Linked DNA regions of Homo sapiens: all the other regions are linked to region 3. The links are contacts of gene promoters, found by promoter capture Hi-C in blood cells and fetal thymus (Javierre and others, 2016). All regions are on one chromosome and are shown on one strand. Each heading gives the region's core, a stretch centred on a gene start or on the middle of the fragment in contact. The rest is flanking DNA. Distances are from core to core; before and after follow the strand shown. Region 1 overlaps LMNB1 (lamin B1). Region 2 holds the start of LOC124901056 (a long non-coding RNA gene). Region 3 holds the start of ALDH7A1 (aldehyde dehydrogenase 7 family member A1).

Region 1 (4,024 bases), core at 1,248-3,747, 190 kb before region 3:
TCGCTCTGTCGCCCAAGCTGGAGTGCAGTGGTACGATCTTGGCTCACTACAACCTCCACCTGCTGGGTTCAAGAGATTCTCCTGCCTCAGCCTCCCAAAGTAGCTGGGATTACAGGCGTGCACCACCACGCCCGGCTGATTTTTGTATTTTTATGGAGATGGGGTTTCACAGTGTTGGTCAGGCTGGTCTCGAACTCCTGACCTCATGACCCTCCCACCTCAGCCTCCCAAAGTGCTAGGATTACAGGCGTGAGCCACCACGCCCAGCCAAAGGTTTTTGTTTTTCAATTAATCATCCTATGTACAAAGAAAACACTCCTAAAGAAGATTAGCATGTTTTTGACCAGGCACAGTGGCTCACGCCTGTAATCCCAGCACTTTGGGAGGCAGAGGCGGGCAGATCACGAGGTCAAGAGATCAAGACCATCCTGGCCAACATGGTGAAACCTGGTCTCTACTAAAAATATAAAAATTACCTGGGCGTGGTGGCGGGTGCCTGTAATCCCAGCTACTTGGGAGGCTGAGGCAGAAGAATTGCTTGAACCCAGGAGGCAGAGGTTGCAGTGAGCTGAGATTGTGTCACTGCACTCCAGCCTGGGCAAAAGAGCGAGACTCTGTGTCAAAAAATAAATAAATAAAAACAAAAATTCACCATCTTTTATCTATACTTCCAGAGTTTGAAAACCTAAAATTTTTATTAACACATTTAGTGGCAAAACCTGACCTGAAACCAGGTCTATTTTCAATCTGTCTTTCTCCACTTGCCATGACAATATCTTTCCCTCAGAAATGTTTCATGATAGAGTGCTAACTCTATCTACCCTAACTCTATCTATAAACCCCACTGGGGGTGTCATATCCAGTATGTGCATCATATTACCGTCTTAAATTGGAATTGCTTTAACTTCCAAAGCACATCTGGCCCCCAGGGTTTTACAGAAAAGATACGGGACCTGTATCACTGAAGGAAAATAAATGTCTGAATCCACAAAATCAGTTATTGAAGACTGATGTAAACACTTAACTTTCTGTTATATCTAGTTTTCCCGTATAGTTAACAGTGAAAATCTGAAACAAGTCAATTTCTCTGTACTTTTTGTTTAAAGTGTTGAGTGATGGCATTCATCATCATTTTTGGAAACTGTTCTCTCAAAAAAGCTTTCAGCAAAATATAATCAGTCTTGGACTGAATCAAAGTAACTGTACCTTACATATGAGGTCTGTTTTCTATGGATTCAGACACCACCTGCATGGAAACTGTTGCCAAATTCTCTTTAGACCAAGCATTTCCATGCTCTGCCTCTAAGGTATCTTGTTTGCTGAGGAACCAAAAAGAAACTAAGTAACCTGGAATCTATAATTCTCTCAAAGCTGTTTTCTTAATCTAAATCTACCTAAATGATGATTATACTTAATTACAAACACTCTAGTTCCAAATAAAAAATTAAATATAGGCCAGGCATGGTGGCTCACGCCTATAATCCCAGCACCTTGGGAGGCCGAGGTGGGTGGATCACCTGAGGTCAGGAGTTGGAGACCAGCCTGGCCAACACGGTGAAACCCCGTCTCTACTAAAAATACAAAATTAGCCGGGTGTGGTGGTGCACACCTGTAATCCCAGCTACTTGGGAGGCTGGGTCAAGAGCATCGCTTGAACCTGGGAGGCGGAGGTTGCAGTGAGCCAAGCTCCGTCTCAAAAAAAAAAGAAAGACATTAACAACCCTAGATGCCAGAAGACAATAGGGCAAAATAATACTTTCCAAGTTCTGGAAAAATGTTAACCTAGTATTCTATACCTAGCCCAAAGCTATTTTCAGACATACAGGACTCAGAAAGTTTACCTCCTGCCATCCTTTCTGAATAAATTACTTAAGGATGTTCTTCAACAAAATATGAAGAAACCAAGGAAAAGGAAAATACACCCAGGATGGAGTGCGGTGGTGTGATCTCAGCTCACTGCAACCTCCGCCTCCCCGGTTCAAGCAATGCCTCCTGCCTCAGCCTCCACAGTAACTGGGATTGCAGGCGTCCACTACCACACGCGGCTAATTTGTGTATTTTTAGTAGAGACGGGGTCTCGCCATGTTGGACAGGCTAGTCTTGAACTCCTGACTTCAGGTGATCCACCTGCCTAGGCCTCTCAAAGTGCTTTACAGGTGTGAGCCACCGTGCCTGGCCAGGAAGCTGTCTTTAATAAGTTACAGGACATCAGTACACAGCCTACCTTAAGCAAAGAGAACTCTAGGGAAGAAAGCAGATTCATGTGATAGATATTATGATTAAATATCTTCAAAAAGTCTGCAAACACACTGAGGGCAAATTTTTCTTAACAAGAAAAATGAAAAGCTATTGAGGAATAAATCCATATAAAAAAAGTCCTAATTCAAATAAGGAGCAAACTAAAATGTGGCATGTTTTGAGCAAATGATGGTATGTTGGGGGGAAAAGAAGAGTCATCTAATCCTGGCAATAGGAATATACATACAGTAGCACAGACTTAAGAAAAATATAATCCCAGAACACTACTAACCCTCAGAGAATAGGTACTGTCAACTCCTCAGACAGGCCTTCCTTAATCACACTAACCCTTCACTCCGCTTTATTTTTATTCCCTTAGCATCTGCTATTACCTAAATTGTATCACATGCATTATTTCATTGATTCTAATACACATTATTCTCATTTTTTAACCCCGCTGAAACCAGCATGCATTTTAGAATCGATACATTTACAACTACTGTCAGCCAGGTGGCAGCCTTGTTACTGTGTGAAAAACCTCCTGTGGCTAACTCCTGGAAAGATTACAAAAGCGCCAGCATCAAAATGCTTCACATCAGACAAAAGACAATCTTTCTTTACTTGCTGGGATATAGCTCCCCCACTACACTCTCAGCAACAAAGAACAGTAATTCATTTTTTTAAAAAAATCTTCATATCCTCTAACATAGAACGGTGACTGGTACGCAACAGATATTTGATCTGTGTTAATTTTTTTTTTTAGACGGAGTCTCACTCTGTCACCCAGGCTGGAGTGCAGTGGACCATCTGGCTCACTGCAGCCTCTGCCTCCTGGATATCAAGCGATTCTCCTGCCTCAGCCTCCCCAGTAGCTGGGATTACAGACGCCCGCCACCACGCCCGGATTTTTTTTCTTTTTTGAGATGGGGTCTCACTCTGTCGCCAGGCTGGGGTGCAATGGCGCAATCTCAGCTCACTGCAATATCCGCCTCCTGGGTTCAAGCGATTCTCCTGCCTCAGCCTCCCAAGTAGCTGAGACTACAGATGCATGCCACCACGTCTGGATAATTTTTTGTATTTTTAGTAGAGACGGGGTTTCACCTTGTTAGCCAGGATGGCCTCGATCTCCTGACCTCGTGATCCGCCCGCCTCGGCCTCCCAAAGTGCTGGGATTACAGGCGTGAGCCCCCGCGTCCGGCCAATTTTTGTATTTTTAGTAGAGACGGGGTTTCACCATATTGGTCAGGCTGGTCTCGAACTCCTGACCTCAAGTGATCCGCTCACCTCGCCTCCCAAAGCGCTGGGATTACAGGCGTGAGCCACCACGCCCGGCCCTGTTTGACATTTTAATATCTATGAAACCCATCATGATGGGTCCAACAGGATGGATCCTACACAGTTGGTCCTGATGTTTTTATTTTCTTAGTGGTACACATAATAATGGCAAGTCTTACAAGCAACGATATCTAAGATTTGAAGGAATTCAGTGGCAAAAAATTTGGAGGAACATAGAAATAATAGTGTGAGTTAACTGACTGCTCATTTTAAAAGATGAAACCAAGGCTTAGTAAATCCAAGAAAGGGAAATACAAGCTTAGTATTATTTTCGAGTTGTATAACTAAATATCCAAAGAAATAAAAACAAAAAGGGATAAATGTGATTGCCTCCGGAAAGAGGTAGTGCAGTTATCGTTTTTCGCTACAAACCAGTCTATACTATTTTATTCTTACCACGTGCACATGCTTTTTTATGAACCGAAAACATATGATAGGAGGGATAAGTAAA
Region 2 (3,997 bases), core at 1-2,500, 230 kb after region 3:
TTTACTAACAAATAAGTTCAGAAAATGAGTTTCTTCATGCGACAAATGTTCATGCACAAGGAAAACATCAGTGTCCCTCCACCCTCGTTACTAGCACCAGTGAAAGATTTGTTCCACAGTAGCTATGCTCTCTCTCCTTGTTCCCCTTGTGATTAGTCAGTGACATTGCAGAATGGCTGGCTTAAGAGAAGTACACAGTTTCTGATTGTGGAAGAGAGCAAAGTTTCCTGGGAAATCAAAGCAAACCTTTAGCCTTGGCCTCATTAGCATTTTGCTCTAACCAACTGCTAACCTGGCAGGGACAGGTCTGTGCTGCTCTACATGCTGTATTGACCCTAAGAACACTTTTGAAGTGAGTCTTTCAGTGATATTACATTATTTTGGACAATATTTTCCTGCTGAGTTTTCTTGGTTTTAGCACTGAATGCCCTAAATTCCAGGAAATCTTTAGTGCTGGGCAAACTGGGGCAGGTGGTCACCTTAGTACTGCTGAGCGCCCTCATGCTACAGTTCTGAAGGTGCACCGCCCCCAGCTTTCCTCCCTGTCCTTCCTTGACAGAGCACGGTCTATATTTCTCTTTCCTCTCTTATCTCTGTGCTGAAATTGAGTTGAAATGTTGGAGACATTAAATAAGCTGTTATATTAAATTGCTGAATTAAACCAGTCACCATGCCTCATACAATAGCAACAACCTGCATGGGAGTTTCTGCTCCTTGTAAACAAAAGACAACTCTTACTGGCACAGATGTTAATGGTCAGTGAAATGTAGTCTGTTACTCTCTGTCTCATGCAGGTTTGGATTAAACAGGGGCAATTCCTAACTTAGAACAAAATGTCTCTAAAGGAGGAAATTCCAGTGTCAGTGAACAGTCTTTGAACTTATTTTTCAATAGATAAGCTTTCCTCGTACTCACTCAATCAACTGATATATATTTATTAGCAAAGCTCTTTGCTAGCTGCAGCGAGTGATATAAAAAGTTTTAAAAAATGGGTCCTTGCTTCAACAATGAAGCTAGGAAAAAACAGTCTACATAACTGAAAAGTTAACTAAAAATAAAAGCGATAGAAAGGCAGTGAATTAGGCTAATATTTATTGACTCTCTGTACTAGCTAATATCTTTTGAGTCAATATAGCATCTCTACTAGATAATTTCGTATATAACATCTCATTTAATCGTTGCCCAAATTACATTTTTATAGATTAAAAAAACTATATCTTTAAAAGGTTAAACCACTTGGCCATAATTAAATAGTAAGCATGTGGTCATGCTGGAATTCATTCATTCATTCATTCATTCATTCATTCATTCAACAAGTATTTATTGAGCATTTACAGTTAAAAGGAGGCAAATCAATTGAGACTGGTATGACTTATAAAAGTCTAATGGAAAATGTGGGGTTTGAGTTTCAATGTGGGGTCATGGGGAAGGCAGAAAGGGAAAGGAGTAGTGCTCATGAACAAATAAATGGGCATGGACCAGGTATGTGTGTGAGAGTGGAGAGTGGAGAGTTTGTTGGTGAAGTAGAGGAATAGTGAACATTTATCTGGAGGCTGAATTATGAAGGAACCTTGATGCCAGTGTGGTTAGTTCAAGCTTTATCCTGTAGGTAATGGAAATAAAATGATGAAAGATGAGCTCGATGGCCATATGCACGATGCTTTGGAAGCAGAATGAGATGAGTTGGTCCCATTACTCCAGTCAGCCGGGTGTTACGGTTATTTCAGTTACGCAGCAATTTACTAGCCTATGGGAAGCATACTGACGTAGTTAAACAGTATTGGCTGAACTCTTATGTAAGATGTTGAGTTAATCCTTATTATAAGAAATTGTGTCAAAGGTGAGATTTTCTGAAAGTCTAGAGCAGGGGTCACAAACTCAAAGGCCTTTAGGAACCGGAAAGGTAAGTAAAACCCTGGGGGAGGGACAGAAGCCAGCAGAGAGTGGTAAACAAAGGAATGCTTTTGCCTCCCTCAGGGCATTCAAGTTTTAACACAACAGATTCTGGTGGGAGGAGGCATCCTAAACCTGTCTGAGGGCTGGAGCCAGCTGGGGCTTGCCCGGTGAATTTCACTTCTTGATATGAGCTGCCTGTGATAAAGCTGACAAAATGTGCAAGTAGTTATAGCTGGACTTTATGTTTAAATAGGAATAAGGTTTTGATAGTACATGATCATTGAAAGAAAATGTGAATTCTGACAGCTTTATTTTCAAGATTAATGGCAGTTGACTGCTGTGCAGCCATCCACAGCCACTGCCTGAGCCCTTTGACTGTTTAGACATGGCCTCTGCCCAAGCCCTCCTAGCCTGTGCCACAGCTTTCATTTGTGTGTGTGCAAATTAAAACAAAGACCAGGTGGTCAAAGATAAACAACTGGAATAGGACGTTTATGTAAATATAACTATAAAAGGAACATGCACAGTGGCCAAAATGAATAATATATAATAAATAAAATACAACTAAAATAAAAATCACAGAGACTCTTTTATATCCTTCCATGGGAATTGAGAAATAATGTTGAAAGTCTTCTCGGCCGGGCGCGGTGGCTCACGCCTGTAATCCCAGCACTTTGGGAGGCCGACGCGGGCAGATCACGAGGTCAGGAGATCGAAACCATCTTGGCTAACACGGTGAAACCCCGTCTCTACTAAAAATACAAACAATTAGCCGGGCGTGGTGGCGGGAGCCTGTAGTCCCAGCTACTCAGGAGGCTGAGGCAGGAGAATGGCGTGAACCGGGAAGGTGGAGCTCGCAGTGAGCCGAGATGGCGCCACTGCAGTCCAGCCTGGGCGACAGAGTGAGAATCCAAATCAAAAAAAGAAAAGAAAAGAAAAGAAAATCTTCTGAAGCTCTAGTTTTCTTTGCTTAAGCCCTACAAATTAAAGTTTGGCCATAAGAGTTTTTTCTTTCTTCAATGAAACAAGGTCCATAATTCAAAGAATGTAGTCTTGTGCAATGATGATAATAATCTTTGGTTATTATATCCGAGCATTCTGGATTCCATAAATAAGAAACTAATATGCCTACTGATGCTAGGCTCGATGGATGGGAGGTGCGGAATTCATGCCTGTATATTCCCCTTTTCCTCCTCTCCCTCCTTTTCCTCTACTTCCTCCTCCTCCTCCTCCTCCTCCTCCTCCTCCTCCTCCAGTTTTTACAGGTGTAGGATTTGGATATTGAGACATAAGATCAAACCAGAACCACCAGATTAACAGAGCTTCAAAATGGAGTTTTCCAGAGCCATGGAATATAAATTTACACTTAGAAATAAACGAGATTTTCTCTACAAATAAGCGAAGTTAGAAATATTTGTGCCTTAAGATTTATTTGATAAATTATGCTGTGTTTAGGCTATTATTAATACAATTAGCTTGTATACTCTAAGCACATAGTACTGTGATTTGGATAAAAAAAGCCTTGGTCTGGGCCGGGTGTGGTGCCTCACGCCTGTAATCCCAGCACTTTGTGAGGCCGAAGTGGGTGGATCACCTGAGATAAAGAGTTCGAGACCAGCCTGGCCAACATGGTGAAACCACCGTCTCTACTAAAAATACAAAAATTAGCCAGGTGTGGTGGTGCGTGGCCTGTAATCCCAGCTACTCTGGAGGCTGAGGCACAAGAATCGCTTGGATCCGGAAGGCGGAGGTTTTTGTGAGCCGAGATCGCGCCACTGCACTCCAGCTTGGGTAACAGAGCGAGACTCCATCTCAAAAAGAAAAAAAAAAAAAAAAAAAAGCCTTGGTCTGGTAAAATCACCTTGAATTTCAGTTGTCACCATATTTCCATACATGGAATAACCATGTATGGAAAACCGGTGTGTGGGTGTAAATTAAATATATCCACATTCCTGTGGTTGGCTGTTTGATTTCATGGTTTAGAGTGTTAGTTTAGGGGTCAGGTTGCCTGGAAAAGGGTGGCTTGATTATTTCATTGCTTTGTTACTTTAGAAAGGGATTTAACTACTCTGAGCTTTTGTAAAAATGGGAATAACAATAA
Region 3 (4,173 bases), core at 668-3,167:
GGTGGCTCAAGCCTGTAATCCCAGCTCTTTGGGAGGCGCAAGGCAGATCCCTTGAGCCGAGGAGGTGCGGACCAGCCTGGGCAACATGGGGGAACCCTGTCTCTACAAAAAATCCTCAAAAATTAGCTGGGTGTGATGGCATGCCTGTAGTCCCAGCTACTTGGGAGGTTGAGGTAGGAGGATCACTAGAGCCTCGGAGGTCGAGGCTTCAGTAAGCCATGATCCTGCCACTGCACTCTAGCGTGGGCAAGCATATTTTAAACTCATGTTCAAATAATGATGATTGAGATATTAGTATTTCCGTTTTACAGGGTAGGCCCAGTTGTTGTGAAATGAGATGGGGCATGCATGAATGGAAAGGATATTGTAGGAAGACAGAAATGGAGAATGAAAGAAATTGATCAAAACTGTCTTTATTCTTTAAGAGTAAGAGCTGGGCGTGGTGGCTCACACCTGTAATCCCAGCACTTTGGGAGGCTGAGGTGGGCGGATCACGAGGTCAGGAATTCGAGACCAGTCTGGCCAACATAGTGAAACCCCTTCTCTACTCAAAATACAAAAAATTGGCCAAGCGTGGTGGTGGGCGCCTGTAATCCCAGCTACGCAGGAGGCTGAGGCAAGGAGAATCGCGTGAACCCGGGAGGCGGAGGTTGCAGTGAGCCGAGATTGCGCCACTGGACTCCAGCCCTGGCAACAGTGCGAGACTACGTCTCAAAAAAAAAAAAAAAATGTAAGAATAGGCCGGACACAGTGGCTCACGCCTGTAATCCCAGCACTTTGGGAGGCAGAGGCGGGCAGATCACGAGGTCAGGAGTTCGAGAGCAGCCTGGCCAACAGGGAGAAACCCCGTCTCTACTAAAAATACAAAAATTAGCTGGTGTGGTGGTGTGCACCTGTAATCCCAGCTACTGGGGAGGCTGAGGCAGGAGAATCACTTGAACCTGGGAGGTTGAAGTTGCAGTGAGTGGAGATCGTGCCATTGCACTCCAGCCTGGGCGATAGGGCGAGACTCCATCTTAAAAAAAAAAAAGTAAGAGGCCGGGCGCAGTGGCTCATGTCTCTAATCCCAGCACTTTCGGAGGCTGAGGCGGGCAGATCATCTCAGGTCAGGAGTTCCAGACCAGCCTGACTAACATGGTGAAACCCCGTTTGTCCTAAAAATACAAAAAATTAGCCGGGTGTGGTGGTGCACACCTGTAATCCCAGCTACTCAGGAGGCTGAGGCAAGAGAATCCGCTTGAACCCGGTAGGCGGAGGTTGCAGTGAGCCGAGATCGCGCCGTTGCACTCTAGCTTGGGCAAGAAGAGCGAAACTCCGTTTCCAAAAAAAAAAAAAAAAAAAAAAAGTAAGAATATACCCAGGCAGGATATTTATAGAGGAAATGCAGCAATCTAATATTTATCATTAATTAGAAAACTTTAATTTGTAATCTACCAAAACAGTGAAAACAACCAACCCTTCCCCCGCCCCCCAATACAAACCCTCCGTTGCCTACTCCAGGGACAAGAGGCGTCACCATCGCTGAGGAGCTGGTTAGGAATGTCGGCTCTCCGACCCTAGCCCAGACTTACTGAATCAGAATGTGCATTTACCACGACGACCAGGTCATTACACGCATTTTACAGTTTCAGAACCCCTGCTATAGCCTACTGTACTTCAGCGCCAATATTTTGCTGAAAAGAATTCCCAGCTGGAACTGTGGCTCCCGGAGTCTTTCACCAGATGGCAGCAGCCCACTCCTCCCTGTAGCACTCCCATTGTTCCAGGCAGGATTCAGCCGCAGGCTCCTCCGGAAGACCAGGGGCAGACGGGGCGGTGGCGGGGTCGTGCCCAGTGGGAGGGGTCGGGTCTGCCCAATGGGTTCTCCCGGGCGGGGGGCGGGGCTCTATTTCAGCAGCTCTCAGGGCCTTGGGCTCATCCCGAGTCCCGGGCTCAGTATGTGGCGCCTTCCTCGCGCGCTGTGTGTGCACGCTGCAAAGACCAGCAAGCTCTCTGGACCTTGGAGCAGGCCTGCCGCCTTCATGTCCACTCTCCTCATCAATCAGCCCCAGTATGCGTGGCTGAAAGAGCTGGGGCTCCGCGAGGAAAACGAGGGCGTGTATAATGGAAGCTGGGGAGGCCGGGGAGAGGTACGCGGGCGCTCAAGAAATCTCTGCAGCCGCCGGGGCTCGCTCGAGGAGGCCGGGCGGGCACTGACCTACCGACTCCCCGCTGGCGCTGGATGCGGTAGTAGCATGGGAGATTTTGAAGCTCCACAGTAAAAGTTTTCTCGTGTAGGGTGCCTTTAAAACAAAAACTTAGATTTTAGGTCCTTGTGTGCTATGCAGAATCGACGTCATTTTGGAGCTGTAGGGGCTAAACTTCCCGCGCATATTTAAAACATTATGGTCTACCGGGCGCGGTGGCTCACCCCTGTAATCCCAGCACTTTGGGAGGCCTAGGCGGGCGGATCACCTGAGGTAGCGAGTTCAAGACCAGCCTGACCGACATGGAGAAACCTTGTCTCTACTAAAAAAAATACAAAATAGCCGGGCGTGGTGGCGCATGCCTGTAATCCCAGCTACTAGGGAGGCTGAGGCAGGAGAATCGCTTGAACCCGGGAGGTGGAGGTCGTAGTGAGCCGAGATCGTGCCATTGCACTCCAGCCTGAGCAACAAGAGCGAAATTCCGTCTCAAAAAAAAAAAAAAAAAAAAAAATTAAAACCTTATGGTCTTGGGATCTATGGTCTTGTGAGAAATGTGGCACACTGAGCGGTGCAACTGATCTTAATTTAGAGCTTAACTCTGGCTCTTCAGCTGTGACGTGCACCGCAGGTAACGTTCTTCAGTGTAGTTTTAAGTTATCTTCCTTCCTGAATTCTTTGGGAGTTTGCAAGCTTGGACGTGCCGAAATCTTGCCATGTTGTACGTTGGGCTGTGAACTCCTTTGAGGACTGGATTTTCAGCATTTCTCCATTGCCCAGGGCTTAACACCGCGCCTGATACCCATTACTGCTCAAAACAATGTTTTATAGAATACAATGGAAAGGTAAGGTTATTATCGCCCAGATTTTTTTTTAAAAGAAAGTTTTTTATAGGAGGATGTTATGTAACAGTTAACAAACTTTGTTGGACGTTGTATATTATATAATGAACCTGCCTTGGTAGAGGGAACACGTCTTTTGGTAATCAGTGGCTGTAGGAGATACAGATAATTTTAATTGCTCCTCAGACCTCGGTGTTTCATCCTGATTTCCGTGTGGTATCTGATCATTAGGCTCTTGGAGGCCTTTTTAGCTGTGCCTTGATTTTCCCTTTCATTGTTGACCTGAGACCTCTCCAGTTGGTGTGGACACGGGACTTTCCAACAGTTTTCCTGCCTTGGCCATTTCATCTCTGAGCAGAGGGTGGGCAGAGTAAGGAAGAGAAGAAATAACTAAAACTAGTCAGTTTGGTCTGTTATTAATGGAAAAAGAGACAAAATAACTGCTTATGTTAAGGCTTTTGTTTATATGCCTAATATTGAGATGTCAGAGGCGAGTTTTGCAGAAAGGTAGTTTCTAATGTTTAAGTCAGAAATGAAAGACAACCTCTGTAGAGTGGTTTATATGTAACAGAAGTTAACCTAAGCTTTTTGAGTTTGGGTATTATATCATTTTTTCCTCTCTTGTTTTTCTTCCCCGTTTGGTCTATTCCCTTACTTCAAAAGGGATTACGTTTTCTATACATGATCATCATCCTTTTGTTTTAAGGTTATTACGACCTATTGCCCTGCTAACAACGAGCCAATAGCAAGAGTCCGACAGGTAAGAGTGTGTGTGTGTGTGTGTGTGTGTGTGTGTGTGTGTTTAATTCAAATTATACACAAGGAGTTTGTGCAGGCTTTCTTTAGAGGCAGAAGCCAGTTAGGCAGGTCAAGAATAATATAAAATCACAAATGAAGAGAATAATGTGTTTATTTTTCATTTGTCATTTAGGACTGTCTGGGGGAGACTGTCCTCTCTTGGGTGGGGGCGTGAAAAGGAAAGAACCATAGAAAAGGTGAAGCGTAGAAAGATTAGGCAGGGGGCCATTTAAGGCAGTGCTTCTGAAGTACCTGAGGATTTTGTTAGAATGAAGCTTCTGATTTCCGAAGTCTGGGTTGGAGCTCAAGGTTCTGCATTTCTAATATGCCTTACATGTTCCCAGATGAAG

What was found. The method cuts DNA at HindIII sites, captures the fragments that hold promoters and counts their contacts. A CHiCAGO score of 5 or more calls a contact.
Region 1: a contact is called between a fragment that was not itself captured here and the fragment with the promoter of ALDH7A1 in region 3, in 2 of 17 cell types (fetal thymus and total CD8 T cells). The highest score is 6.5, in fetal thymus.
Region 2: a fragment that was not itself captured here is called in contact with the fragment with the promoter of ALDH7A1 in region 3 in 3 of 17 cell types (naive CD4 T cells, naive CD8 T cells and activated CD4 T cells); the score reaches 6.5 in naive CD4 T cells.

What each region holds. Positions count from the first base shown.
Region 1 is chr5:126,779,165-126,783,188 of GRCh38, reverse strand. The region is part of intron 1 of LMNB1 (lamin B1); the gene reads right to left. Among named protein-coding and RNA genes, the nearest start is that of LMNB1, 4.0 kb to the right of the region's middle. RefSeq lists enhancers at 2,914-3,003, 3,014-3,083. The HindIII fragment of the contact is 2,673 bases long and covers 1,161-3,833 here.
Region 2 is chr5:126,366,586-126,370,582 of GRCh38, reverse strand. LOC124901056 (a long non-coding RNA gene) reads left to right here and starts at 285. Exons shown (of 9, transcript XR_007058919.1): 1 at 285-1,903. It also overlaps a transcript of GRAMD2B not described here. RefSeq lists enhancers at 1,692-2,432, 2,433-3,174. The HindIII fragment of the contact is 697 bases long and covers 902-1,598 here.
Region 3 is chr5:126,592,963-126,597,135 of GRCh38, reverse strand. It overlaps ALDH7A1 (aldehyde dehydrogenase 7 family member A1), which reads left to right and starts at 1,917. Exons shown (of 18, transcript NM_001182.5): 1 at 1,917-2,129; 2 at 3,732-3,785. The coding sequence starts at 1,938. The HindIII fragment of the contact is 2,913 bases long and covers 1-2,878 here.